3 separate regions of the Homo sapiens genome follow, and all the other regions are linked to region 1. Evidence: promoter capture Hi-C in human tissues and cell types (Jung and others, 2019). All regions are on one chromosome and are shown on one strand. Each heading gives the region's core, a stretch centred on a gene start or on the middle of the fragment in contact. The rest is flanking DNA. Distances are from core to core; before and after follow the strand shown.

Region 1 (2,573 bases), core at 43-2,542:
CTTATGTCTGAAAACCAAGTAATTGGTGCACAAAAAAAAAAAGATATGAATTCAAAGGTAGGCGAGAATACTGCAGGCTTGAAGGATTGGGAGAACGTGTGTGCAAACTCTGCAAACTATAAAGTGGACTTCATAAGGTACTTGGTTGCTCAAAGGTGCTTATATTTATTTATTTATTTATTTGAGTTGGAGTCTCACTCTGTCTTCCAGGCTGGAATGCAGTGGCACAATTTCGGCTCACTGCAACCTCCACCTCCTGGGTTCAAGTGATTCTCCTGCCTCAGCCTCCTGAGTAGCTGAGACTACAGGCAGGCGGCACCACGCCTGGATAATTTTTGTATTTTTAGTAGAGACGGGGTTTCACCATGTTGGTCAGGCTGGTCTCAAACTCCTGATCTCAAGTGGTCTGCCCTCCTCGGCTTTCCAAAGTGCTGGGATTACAGGCGTGAGCCACCGTGCCAGCCATAGGTTGCTTATATTTAGTCCCTTGGCAGAAAGGAGACCTGACCTATTGAACTAGACCTTTGTACAACGGGAAAACCCCACCCTATACCTGACTGACCAGCAAATGTAGGAATCCTTTATGAGACATGGAGAGACTTGGGTGATTTGCAAATCATGTAATCAATTATGATTTCTTTGAATTTGAAATTTGATCATTTTATGTTTCTTATCATCATCCTACCATGCTCTTGCTTTGTTACAGTATTTTTTTCCCACGCCATCTATGGGGTATTTGTTTCCCAATGGCTGGCATTTCCATCTCATTCATAAGATGAAATCAGAGGTCACTGGAGTCACTGAAAGTCTCATGATTCTGTTTATCTCACTGACACTTTCCTTTTGGATGGTTCTGTCCACAACATAACTTTGTTTCCTTACAACTTCCCTTTGCTTCCTGACTCTCTCCTTAATTCTCTTGCTTTAGCCCTAGTCAAGAGACCCCAAAAGAAGATAATCACATTCATTCTTAAGGAACACACTCCAAGAAAAACATTCATCTTTTGTGAAAGCAGTTTCTGGATCATTTCCCCATTAAAAAAAAAATCCAGGACACTTACCTTGGTTAGCATAGAGCAGATTCTTTGACTTAAATTATTTCTCAAAGTCAAGGAAAGTGTTTGTCTTTTTTTTTTAAAAAAGCTCAAAACCCAAATTCTTTTTTCTGAAAGAAAAATAAATGGAAAGATGACTTTTGTAAAAGTGCCCTCAGTTTAAAACAAAAGCCATTCGTCTTTTCTGTTATGCTAGTGACAGCAGAAAGTATACAGACTAAGGAAAAAAAGTTGTGTAAGAGGCAAGCGTGATACTTCCGTGATCTTAAGGGAGGGCGGAATGGTGAGTTAGAATACAGCTGTTGGATTGGCAGAACATAAACGCTTCCTGCCCCTTTACCCCACCCTCCTCAACGTCATAGTTCTGGCAAAGCCCTAAAGCTATGGGAAGCACATGATAGCGTCGCTTTTGCCATTATAGTCTGTAGAGGGCGCCAAATCACCCCAAATTACAGCTTTCTCAGCGAAACAGGAGTTCTACTTTTGGAAACAAACTTCTACACCCTGACTCTTGCTTGGATTACCATAGGAGCTGTCCAAAGGAGAAAGTTATTTAGATGACCATTACCTCATCAAGTTCTTTCATGCTTGGAGTTCTCCAACCCCAGAAATGTGATTTTAAAGTTCAGGACTTACAAGGAATTTAAGCTGTTTTGTCCTTCAGATTGGATCAGCAGAGGGAGCTGGTGAAATGTGTTTGAGAAAGCATAAAGCTATTTTTAGATATTAACCTAGGGCACAAGAAAGGTAATAATTATAGAAGCTGTGGCAGAAATAGAAAACTTAACTGTTTTTCCTTCCACTGTGTGCTTGTAAGATAATATAACAGACCATCTTTAGGACTTGTGTTTAGGGACATTTTCCAACATGGTTCACTGAACAATTTCTAAACCACATTTGCTTGTGACTACACATGCAAATGCCTACAGGAGTGAGGAGGGTAACATACACGAGGAAAGTGGGCCAGATATGATCTGACTGGAAAGTACTTTCTCTGTCTATTCAGTTCAGCTAAATGTTGCTATTTGAGAAAATGAGCCCAATATGGCAAGGCCTTAGGTTCTTTTCAGTAAAAGCTGCAAATACAGATTTTAATATAAAATCTTCTGTTGGCAGCAAATATTTTCTTTTGAAAAATATCATGGAATATTATGCAGCCATAAAAAGAAATAAGATCATGTCCTTTGCAGGGACATGGATGAAGCTGGAAGCCATCATCCTCAGCAAACTAACACAGGAACAGAAAACCAAACACTGCATGTTCTCACTCATAAGTGGGAGTTGAACAATGAGAACACATGGACACAGAGAGGGGAATGTTGTAGGGCCTGTTGTAGGGTAGGGGGTGAGGAGAGGGAACTTAGAGGAGAACAGGTCAATAGGTGCAGCAAATCACCATGGCACACGTGTACCTATGCAACAAACCTGCACGTTCTGCACATGCATCCCACTTTTTTTTAGAAGAAATAAAGAAAAAAATTTAAAAAAAGAAAAAAAAATATTGTGTCCAGAGTTAGT
Region 2 (2,573 bases), core at 40-2,539, 420 kb after region 1:
TGCAGGTGAGAGCATTTTTAGCTTAGGATTGGGAGTGATTCAGAGTGGTAGGCTGAAAGATTGGCTCCCATTCTTCACACTTTCTTGCTTCCATATTTAGTCATAGCCCCATCATTGGTGGAGTGTATTTTCTTGCTTCATAGACTTTGGGCTTGGCCATGTGACTTGCTTTGATCCTGGGGACAAGAGTGACAATGGGTCAGTTTCATACCTGGGCCTTAACAGGACTCATATACTTCCTCTTGTTCCCTTTTGCCTCTGCTCCCTCCATGAATGAAGAAGTGTGCCTGTTTCTGGGACTCTTAGGATAATGAGATATGTGAAGTAGAGACTCCAGGCTGGCCCACAGACCTGTAGTGGGAAGCAATGGCATCTAGGGAGACACAGCTTCAAGTAGATCCACCCAGCTGAGCACAGCATCCATCCCAGTTCAGCCAACCCACGGACTCATGGAAATAAATGTTCTTTTAAGTCAGTGAGTTTTGGGTGAATTTTTTACTCAGATATATAGTGGCAAAGACTAGTTAATAATTGTTTGGGAAACAAATGATGGTGTGTGGAGGTAGGAAGAGGATGAAGCTGGAAGCGGGTTTGATTCTGGCTGTCTTTCCTTGGTTCTTCACAGTCTCTAAATAGAGGCAGCTATCAGGCAAATGGCTGGCCAGCCCAGCATTTGACTGTCTTCACTGACTCGTTGCAATTCAAATCCTGCTTGCTTGACCAGAAACCTGGCTTTCCAAAATTCAGAGCAAGCCATACAGTCTGGGGGCAAAGGGCTTTTATTTCTGCTCACAAATACTCTAAATTTGACAATAACTAAGCTGAAAATGGGAGAGGTAGATTAATTTAGGAACATAGGAATATCTATGCTTCTTATACTGTAAAATATCATGTAAGCTCTTTGATTGTAAAGAATAATTCCAGTCATCTTTTTGCCCAGCTCAGTGGTGGGTAAACACAGAAATGTTATACATTCTACTAAAGTGCTAAATGTTAAATGTTCCTGGGTTGTAAGGCCTGTTTCAGAATCTGGATAATAAGTTGAATGTTACATTTGTAGCTCTCTTCCCTTCATAACCCCAACGTCAACGAATCGTTTTTTATTCCTTGCTCTCTTCCCTAAATAACCCCAATATCAATGAATAGTTTTCGAATTCCTTTTTGCCAAGCTTTCTTCCTCCAAAATATTGGATTTATGTCATGTGATTTATAAAGATACATGCTGAGATTGTGGATGCTGAGACTTTGAATGGTATATTCACTCTGCATCAATTCCTCAATTAGGAAATCTAGCTACCTATACGTATAGAAGCTGAAGGTTAATTGCCTCAACAAGCACGCATTGAGGATGTGTGATTGCTTGGTGCCAATGAGTAGCTTCCATCTACTTCCTAGATTGATGGTATTTGTCTTATCTGCCCCCACACCTTGATCACAGAAAAATCCAATTCTGCTGTACAGGCTTAGAAGCTTGCGGCAGGGGGCAAGATACCAAAATACAAATGTCCTGTCACACGACTTGGACTGCACTGAAGGTTTACCTCTAGATAATAAAAATAACAACAATAACAACAACAACCACAGTATTTTAGCTAGAATATTTTCTGAACACTTAGGATCAACAGGCACTGTGCTAAATGTTTTCCTCGCATTATTTCATTTAAACTTCACAACAATCCTATGAGGTGGTAACCATGATTAATCCAGAGAAGTTAAACCACTTGCAGTTAGTAAGTAGCTGAAGCAGGTATTGAACATATTCCTAGGTCACTGCTTTTCACTACTTTGCTAAGAGGTGTTAGTTGAAAGCATGATTTTGGATGTTCTCTTAAAAGACCAGGACCCTTTTTCCACTTACTTGTCTTTTCCATAATTAGTGGTTAATCTTAGTCTTACTTTATTCCAAATTTCTCTTGATAGAACTCCAAAAATACTTAACAACTTCCAAATGTAATAGTGGGTGACCCGGCGCTTTCTCATTTATACTTTCAGTTCAGGTCAAGTGTCATCACACTGAAGCCTTCAAGCATGACTGAGTTTGCGCTAGAAGTATAGAAAAATCTAATTTGTCACCAACCACTTCATAAGAAGATAGGCACAAAAACTAAGTGGCCTTATCCAATTGAACTCCTTACCTGTGCTGAGTCTAATCATAAATACTAATTTTTAAAATAAACCTCACATGTTTAATTTGATTTTTTCTGAAAATAAAAAAGTATTCCCATATGATTACTTAGAATAAATCTAGTAAATCACTGTCTTCGTCGTACCAAAGATTTTTTAAAAGCCTACTCCAATAGTTTTCATGTGGTTAACTGTATGGGTCCTACTGATGGGACAAGTCCTAGAATTAAAAAAAAAAAAAAAAAAAAAAAAGAAAAAAAGAAAAAGGGAGAAATGCCTTTTTTAAGACTATGAGAACAGAATTACTTTATGCTATTTAGAGAAGCTTGGAAGATTTTTTTCCCTTTGGTAAATGCCACAAAAGAGACATTCCTCATGAAAACTTAACAGAGAGACAGGCTGTAGCATAGTGAGGATGGCCTCTGGGAATAGTTATAGGAGAGAGTTTG
Region 3 (2,573 bases), core at 25-2,524, 380 kb after region 1:
AATCCAACTGGGCCGGTGCACCTAAATAATAAATATCCTTCTCAACCCCATCGGTCTCTCTGATTCCTTATCAATCCCACTACATTTCAACATGTTAAATGGAATTATGAGCTTCTTATTGACTTTATTTGGAGATTAACTATGGCTTAAGGATATGTATATGGGTGCCAAATTTTCAACGTGGGAACTCATTATGGTTAGTTAATATTACGTGTCAAACTGAGTGAGCCATAGGATGCCCAGATATCTGGTAAACATTATTTTGGGGTATGTCTGTGAGGGTATTTCCAGAAGAGATTAGCATTTAAATTGGTGTTCTGATGATAGGAGATGACACTCCCTAATGTGGGTCAACATCTTCCAATCCATTGAGGGCCTGAATAAAACAAGAAGGCAGAAGAATGCTTAGTTTTCTCTTTGCCTGACTACTTGACTTGGGACACAAATCTGCTGCCCTCGGTGCTCTGGTTCTCAGATCCTCAGAACCAGGCTGGAATTTTTATCATCAACTCTCTTGCTCTCAGGCCTTCAAACTGCACCATTGGATCTCCTGGGTCTCTGTCTTGCAGAAAGCAGAATCCAGGACTTCCTAGCTTCTATTATTGTGTAAACCAATACCTTATAATAAATATATTTATCTATATAGTTGTGGTTTCTCTCATCCTTACTAATAAGATAATCCTTACTAGTAAGGCATGAAGTTAGGAGATTAATGAATAAAGACAAATTCTTCCAATTGCCAACTTTGGCAAGATTTCTGGATGAGGGCCCATAGTAATGTAATTTTCTTTTTCTTTTCTTTTTTTTTTTTTTTTTTTTTTTTTTGTCTCACTCTGTTGCCAGGCTGGAGTGCAGTAGCATGATCTCGGCTCACTGCAACCTCCACCTCCCGAGTTCAAGTGATTCTCCTGCCTCAGCCTCCTGAGTAGCTGGGATTACAGGCACCCGCCACCACACCCAGCTAATTTTTGTATTTTTAGTAGAGATGGGGTTTCACCAAGTTGCCTAGGGTGGTCTCGACCTCCTGACCTCATGATCCGCCCACAGCCTCCCAAAGTGCTGGGATTACAGGTGTGAGCCACCATACCTGGGCCATAACGTAATTTTCTAATGTATTCATGGTTCTTTTTCTTAACAGAACAAAAATTAAGAAAAGTAGTCAGGATTAGAAAAAAAGACAAGCTTTTGAATGACAGAAATATTAATAGGAATTCACTTACATATTTGTAACTTCTCTGTAATCACGGTGAGACAAAGTAGTGAAGAGAAACTCTAGTATATTACCTCTTAGCCAAAGGTAAAATACTCTAGGTAGTTATCAACCAAGCAAATTCTTTGAAATGTTGACACTCGTCATGGCAACCATATGTTTCAAAGATTCCATTCTGGAATGAATGTGGTAGAATGTCCTGGCATGCCCAAGTGGCTACTAATGCTCACCTGTCATTATTGAGGGGTGGGTAAGTTTCTGGTTTCTATGTTACAAGCACTGAAAGATAGTTCTTCAGACCAACAGTCCAGTAGAAGCTGGGCAAAGGATAAGAATAGAAAATTCACAGAAAAGGAAAACTGAATGGCCAATAAATATTTTAAAAGATTTTTAATCTCACTTGAAGTTATGAAAATACAAACCATTAAAATATTATTTCCCAGCTAATAAGTTAAAAAGTACTAAAATACAAGTAAAAATTAAAAAAAGATAATTTCAAATATTGGCAAAGATAAAAGAAAGTTGAACTTTCTCACACGACTGGTGGGATTATAAATGGATATAACTAGTTTGTAGAGAAACTTGTCAAGTTCTAGCAAAACTGAAAATCTACAACCCAGAATTTCCAGTTCTAGGTCCATAGAGTGTATAAACATGTATACAACTGATGCACTGAGAGACATGAAGGATGTTTATTGTAGCACTTTTTATAATAGAGTTATTAAAATATAATTCACATACCATAAAATTTATCTTAAAGTATATAATTCAATCATTTTAAATATATTTACAGAGGTATACAACCATCATTACTATCTAATTTTAGAACATTTTCATTTAGAACAAGCTCCAAAGAAACCCTGTACCTGTTAGCAGACATTCACCCTCCCTCTCCCCCAAGTACCTGGCAACCACTAATCTTCTGTCTGCCTTCTGGACATTTTATGTAAATAGATTTATACAATATGTGACTTTTTATGATTAGACTGTTTGGATTTTTATTACTGAGTTGTGATTTTTTAATATGTTCTAGATGCTAGTCTCTTATCAGATACATAATTTGCAAATATTCCTCCTTTTCTATGGGCTGCCTTTACATTTTCTTGACAGTGTCTCTTGAAGCACAAAAGTTTTAAATTTAAGTGAAATTTAAATTTGCCATTCTTTTTCTTTTATTGCTTGTGTTTTTGGTATCATAACTAAAAAAAAAGAAAAAGACATTGCCTGCATTCCCTGGCCCAACTTCACAGAGATTAGATTTAGAACTTTTCTAAGAGTTTTGTAGTTTTTGCCTTACATTTAGGTCTTTGGTTCATTCTGAATTAGTTTTAGTATATAGTGTGAGGTAGAGGTCTAATTTTAT

Evidence for each region. The method cuts DNA at HindIII sites, captures the fragments that hold promoters and counts their contacts. A contact is called where the count stands out against the background at its distance.
Region 2: a contact is called between a fragment that was not itself captured here and the fragment with the promoter of FMO4 in region 1, in 1 of the 25 tissues and cell types used here (aorta).
Region 3: a contact is called between the fragment with the promoter of MROH9 here and the fragment with the promoter of FMO4 in region 1, in 1 of the 25 tissues and cell types used here (stomach).

What each region holds. Positions count from the first base shown.
Region 1 is chr1:171,312,902-171,315,474 of GRCh38, reverse strand. It overlaps FMO4 (flavin containing dimethylaniline monoxygenase 4), which reads right to left and starts at 1,292. Exons shown (of 10, transcript NM_002022.3): 1 at 1,062-1,292. The HindIII fragment of the contact is 8,197 bases long and covers 1-2,573 here.
Region 2 is chr1:170,888,942-170,891,514 of GRCh38, reverse strand. No RefSeq gene overlaps it. Among named protein-coding and RNA genes, the nearest start is that of MROH9, 45 kb to the left of the region's middle. The HindIII fragment of the contact is 4,840 bases long and covers 1-2,573 here.
Region 3 is chr1:170,934,235-170,936,807 of GRCh38, reverse strand. It overlaps MROH9 (maestro heat like repeat family member 9), which reads right to left and starts at 1,274. Exons shown (of 22, transcript NM_001163629.2): 1 at 1,221-1,274. The HindIII fragment of the contact is 10,538 bases long and covers 1-2,573 here.